Linked DNA regions of Homo sapiens: region 2 is linked to region 1. Evidence: promoter capture Hi-C in human tissues and cell types (Jung and others, 2019). All regions are on one chromosome and are shown on one strand. Each heading gives the region's core, a stretch centred on a gene start or on the middle of the fragment in contact. The rest is flanking DNA. Distances are from core to core; before and after follow the strand shown.

Region 1 (2,936 bases), core at 335-2,834:
ATTTAAAAATATACTTCATTCACTACTTTTTGTCTATCAAATGTGATATAATCACATTAATAATTTTCAAAACAGGATGATGTTAGTCATACGGGAAATCTTTTGGAATTCTGGCACTGTATATTGAGAATTCTTATAAAAATTGAGACTATGATGAAATATTGTGTTTTATTTAAAAATGGATTATAGTCCAAAAGAATTTCCCTAAGTTATGGAAATTAAATCTGGGTAGTACTAAGTCATAAATATAACAACATATTTATCTATTTCCAATTGCTCTAAAAGACACAGAAGCAAAATCCTCAGTATTCATAAATGTTATACACCAGGATAAAGGCATCACACATAATGATTGTATTTGACCATCTTTGGAATGGAAAGGAAGCCCAAACATCAAACCTGATGACTAAACCATTTAGGTGCGATAAAGAGTCCAGTTCATACTTTAGAAAGCTGAGTTAGTATTTTATTTTTCTCCCAAAGCATATATCTGCCTTTATAAGAACCAACCAACCGTATGAATGAGAACTGGAGTCAAGGTTAAAGTAATCTTGCCCAAGAGAGTAGAGTGTGTTTGCATCGGAAAGAAGCAGCGGCTCAGCTCAGATGAATATTAATAACAACCGGAGGCAGCACCTCCCCTGAAAAACATTAGAGCTCCTTGGACATGTGTTTGAAATTCATCCTCCCAAGTCATCCTGTGACTATTGGAGTAGATGGCAATGTCCCATAATGTGAAGGGGGAAAATACACTATAAATCGTTTTTTAAATATAACACTTTAAAAAATGAAACGAAAGTGACAGAGTGTTCTAAGTCAAGCAACCTTTTCAGATGGTAAAGGAAAAGCTTTGTCTTTCCTATTATTGTTTGCCCTTCAGTTGACATACATGCTGAGATGCATCAATAGGATTACAACGGAAACACGGTCATCTCTAGGGTTTCCTCTGTTTCGATTCCTTGATCCTGTTTAAAGAAACAGGCTCAGGGAATGCACAGAAAACAAACTTCCCCAATCGAAGTTCTGAGGTCTTCCCTCCCCTTCTCCCACCTTCGGAAACCGGTCTAGTTTTCCCGGCAGCACCGGACAGAAATGTCACGGTCATGTTGCATCACTTCACTTGTTGAGCTGTGCGAAGGCAGCACTTGACCACAGAAACTTGGTGAACCGCCTTGCTCTTAAATTAGCCCCCAAGAATTCTCTCCAGCCCTATAGAAATGTCTTACCTGCATGTGTCCCTGGTACATTCTGCTTCGGTTTCTTCAGGGCTCCCTGAGGCCACCGGATGCTTTTCCCCCGTGCTTACTTGCCCACCAAAAGAGGGGAAAAGGTGGGTGCACAGCGGGTTCTCAGAGGGTGCTCCTGAGCCCCCTGGAGCTCCGGGTACTCGGCCGGCCGGCGGCCACTCGGCAGCGCTGCGGGCTGCCGGGAACTGTTCTCCGCTCGGGGTGCTGAAAGCGGACGCGGGAGAGCGCGCAGAGAAGGCGAGGAGCCGGGTCGGCCAGGCTCTCCTGCAGGCGCGGGTCCTGCTCGCGGGGCGTCTCTAGAACTCACTCCTTCTTCGCCGAACTCTTTCTCGCTTCCTGCCAGGTTGCCTCATGTCTCTCTCTCTCTGAGCTGCGAACCCCCTCCTCCCAGCCCTGACGTGAGCGCCTACACCAGCCGCCGCCGCAGCTGCCGAGCGGGGCGCGCGCCGTTCTCCCAGCCGCGTGCCTGCCGAGAGGCCGCGGGACCGGGCACGCGCGCGCGTTCCCAGGGGCCTGGGAGCGGCCCGAGGGCGGCCCCGGGCGGTGCGCGCTCCCCGAGCGCGTCCTCGGGGCTGCGCGCGCGCGGCGGCAAGGCGAGGTGCCGGCAGGCGGTGGTCGCGCTGGTGTACAACGCCCGCAGCAGCGCGGCGTTCAGGTGCGGCGTCGGCGGGCAGGGCGATTCTAGCGGAGAGGATGGCCGGCCGGAAGAAAGGCGGGAAGACATGCATCGTCTCTCCGGGGGCCATCCACCGCGGCTGAGCCTGTTATCCTACAGACATTATAGGCTGAGTGCAGGGGTTGCCGAAGAGTTTACTTCGGTTCTGATTCAGCTCTCGAAAGTTACGTCCGTATCACCCGTTAAATAAAGACTCCCCGCTCCCCTCATCCCCAGTTCATCGCCGAGCATTCTATTTAAAACGGCAAACCCTAGTCCCTGAGGATCTGGCATGTTTTATTTTTTTCCCTAGCACGTAACATCACCTAACATCCTTTATATTTTCCATATTTATTTTATGTACTGTCTGTCTCTCCCTCTGTACAATGTTATTTCCATGAGATCAGGGACTTTTTTTTAGGGGGGTGGAGTGTTGCACTTGGTTTTGCACGTGTGTGCACAGTAAGGTATTTAGTACTTCCTGACACATGGCAGGCACACAATAAATATTTGCTGAATGAATAGACCTTTACTACTATACACTTACACACACATACACACATATATGAAGAGTGCATTTAAATATGTCTCAAGTTGAGACTGGGTAGTTTGATGTGTCTACACAATAAATGTTCATATATACACACACACCACGGGGTGGTGTATACTGTGATTACCTAATTTTGTTGGTAAAAACATCTCCAATTCTACAGGCCCCTCATATTATGTACAGCATGATATCCCCAAAATATTGCATATAGCATAATATGCTTTTTATAAAGTTTAAAAAATCCCTAGAAATGTCAATGTGTATTCATATATTCATATACAACAATATAAAAAGGAAAGCAGTGGAACAATGAATATAGTGTTCAGAGTGTTGGTGACCCTGGGTGAAGGGAGGCAGGGAAATAGATGGGGAAGCATTTCACTTGAAGTTTAGATGTTAATGTCTTATCTTCTATGCCGGGTAGTGATTCATAGGACACCTAATATCCTATTAAAAATTACTGTGTAACTAAATAAAATAGAAC
Region 2 (2,816 bases), core at 283-2,782, 290 kb after region 1:
AGCCGTGGCAGCGGGGCAGTCGGTTGCATGGTGGCAGGCACAGGTGTAATGGAGAGGTAACAGAGAAGACCTCCTCCCTTCCTAGTCAGGGCATTAGCAAGACTGAATGCTTCCTGCCCCCACCAGCAGCGCCAGTGAACACCGCAGGATGGAGCATGGCAGCGGGCTTACCCAGACCCCCAGCTCTGAAGAGATCAGTCCTACTAAGTTTCCTGGACTGTACCGCACTGGCCAGCCCTCACGTCCCCATGGCATCCTCCATAAGCCTCCTGATATAGTGCCTGATGATGAGAAAGACCATGGGAAGAAAAAAGGAAAATTTAAGAAAAAGGAAAAGAGGACTGACGGCTATGCAGCCTTTCAGGAATATAGCTCTGGAGATGAGGCAGAAAGTCCTTCCAAAATGAAGAGGCTCAAGGGAATCCATGTTTTCAAGAAGCCCAGCTTTTCTAAAAAGAAAGAGAAGGATTTTAAAATAAAACAGAAACCCAAAGAAGAAAAGCATAAAGAAGAAAAGCACAAAGAAGAAAAACATAAAGAGAAGAAGTCAAAAGACCTGACAGAAGCTGATGTTGTTAAACAGTGGAAGGAAAAGAAGAAAAAGAAAAACCAATTCAGGAGCCAGAGGTGCCTCAGATTGATGTTCCAAATCTCAAACCCATTTTTGGAATTCCTTTGGCTGATGCAGTAGAGAGGACCATGATGTATGATGGCATTCGGCTGCCGGCCATTTTCTGTGAATGTATAGATCACTTAGAGAAGTATGGCATGATGCGAAGGCATCTACAGAGTATCAGGAATTGAATCAAAGGTGGATGAGCTAAAAGCAGCCTATGACCGGAAGGAGTCTACCAACTTGGAAGAATATGAGCTTAACACTGTAGCCAGTTTGCTGAAGCAGTATTTGTGAGACCTTCCAGAGAATTTGGTTACCAAAGAGCTTATGCCGAGATTTGAAGAAGCTTGTGGGAGGACCACGGAGACTGAGAAAGTGCAGGAATTCCAGCGTTTACTCAAAGAACTGCCAGAATGTAACTATCTTCTGATTTCTTGGCTCATTGTGCACATGGACCATGTCATTGCAAATGAACTGGAAACAAAAATGAATAAACAGAACATTTCTATAGTGCTCAACCCAACTGTGCAGATCAGCAATTGAGTCCTGTATGTGTTTTTCACACATGCGCAAGAACTCTTTGGAAATGTTGTACTAAAGCAAGCGACGAAACCTCTGCGATGGTCTAACATGGCCACGATGCCCACGCTGCCAGAGACCCAGGCAGGTATCAAGGAGGAGATCAGGAGACAGGGTTTTCTTTTGAATTGTTTACATCGATATCTGCAGTGTGGGATAAAGGATTTATCTAAAGAAGAAAGATTATGGAAAGTCCAAAGAATTTTGACAGCCCTCAAAAGAAAACTGAGAGACGCTTAAAGACAGGAGTGTGAAACCAAGATTACACAAAAGATAGCCAGTCTTTTAAAAGAGGATGTTTCCAAAGAAGAGATGAATGAAAATGAAGAAGTTATAAATATTCTCCTTGCTTGGGAGAATGAGATCCTGACTGAATAGGAGGAGCTCCTGACCATGGAGCAGTTTCTATGCCGGCAGACTTCCTCAGAAAAAGAAGAGATGGGATGCCTCAGAGCCGAGATTGCTGAAATTCAGAGTCACCAGCAGCACGGCCGAAGTGAGACTGAGGAGTACTCCTCCGAGAGCGAGAGTGAGGATGAGGAGGAGCTGCAGATTATTCTGGAATATTTACAGAGACAGAACGAAGAGCTGGAAATAAAGAGCAATCATTTGAATCAAGCAGTTCAAGAGGAGCGCGAGGTCATCATCGAGCTGCGCGTACAGTTCCGGCTGCTCCAGATGGAGGGAACCAAGGCTGAGCAGCAGGTGCAGGAGGACCAGGAGCCTGAGTGGCGCGGTGGTGCCGTCCAGTCGCCCAGAGACTGTGTCCTCAGGCCAAAAGAAGCTAAAGAGCAGCCAAAGGCAGGCAAAGAGCCGGTGAAGCCATCACCCAGCAGGGACAGGAAGGAGACGTCCATCTGAGCAGCCCGCGCGGCCGTCTGGAGTCCGCGAGACTGAAAGGACCTGTGCATCTTACTGTAACCAGGGGGCCAGGCCGGCTTTCTTGCTGTACATTCTGTAAAGGTGTCTTCTCTTCTCAGACTCTTCCTCTGTCACCCGTCTGACTCCTTTGCGTCAGGCTCAGGTTCCATTAAGAGAACGAAGCAGTGGATGCATTGTGGGCTTTAGGGACAGATGAGTTTTCCAGATAGTGTCACCTTATTTAAAGATTAATTTTCTTTGTTAACTTAAAATAACTATTTTAACCCTCGAGTGGCTTCTTTTTAAACCATAAATCGTCTTGCTTTGCTTTTTTATCACAGCAGAATCAGGATCTCTTTCTCATTCAAGGGGGGAACCACACCAGGTCAGCGCTGCACCTGCTGTGGCCGCTGTGAGCTGCACCCTCTGGGATCTCTGGTACCTTCACACTTGCTTGTGCCTTCCACACCTTCTTGGTGCAGATCCCTGTGGGGGAGCTGCCTCATGTTCTCTGGCCAGAGTGGCGCCTGGTGTGTGTTCCCTGGCCCACCCTCCTAACTCTCTCCTTCTGCAGTTCTAAACCACAGTTGATAAGCCCTAGTCACCAGGATGGCCTAGTCTGGCCACAGACAGAGGCTGCCTGTGGAGCCTGTCCACCCACCCCGGGCAGTGCAGGCCGGCAGGGAGGAGGCCGCCTCTTCCCACCAGTTCCTCACCGCGGGGACCAGCAAAGGCCTTCTCACTGGGTTGGCAGAGGTAG

The links. The method cuts DNA at HindIII sites, captures the fragments that hold promoters and counts their contacts. A contact is called where the count stands out against the background at its distance.
Region 2: a contact is called between a fragment that was not itself captured here and the fragment with the promoter of PEX5L in region 1, in 1 of the 25 tissues and cell types used here (thymus).

What each region holds. Positions count from the first base shown.
Region 1 is chr3:180,035,353-180,038,288 of GRCh38, forward strand. PEX5L (peroxisomal biogenesis factor 5 like) reads right to left here and starts at 1,585. Exons shown (of 15, transcript NM_016559.3): 1 at 1,227-1,585. The coding sequence starts at 1,247. RefSeq lists a silencer at 1,651-1,700. The HindIII fragment of the contact is 6,291 bases long and covers 126-2,936 here.
Region 2 is chr3:180,323,009-180,325,824 of GRCh38, forward strand. It overlaps the pseudogene RALBP1P1. Among named protein-coding and RNA genes, the nearest start is that of LINC02053, 90 kb to the right of the region's middle. The HindIII fragment of the contact is 6,414 bases long and covers 1-2,816 here.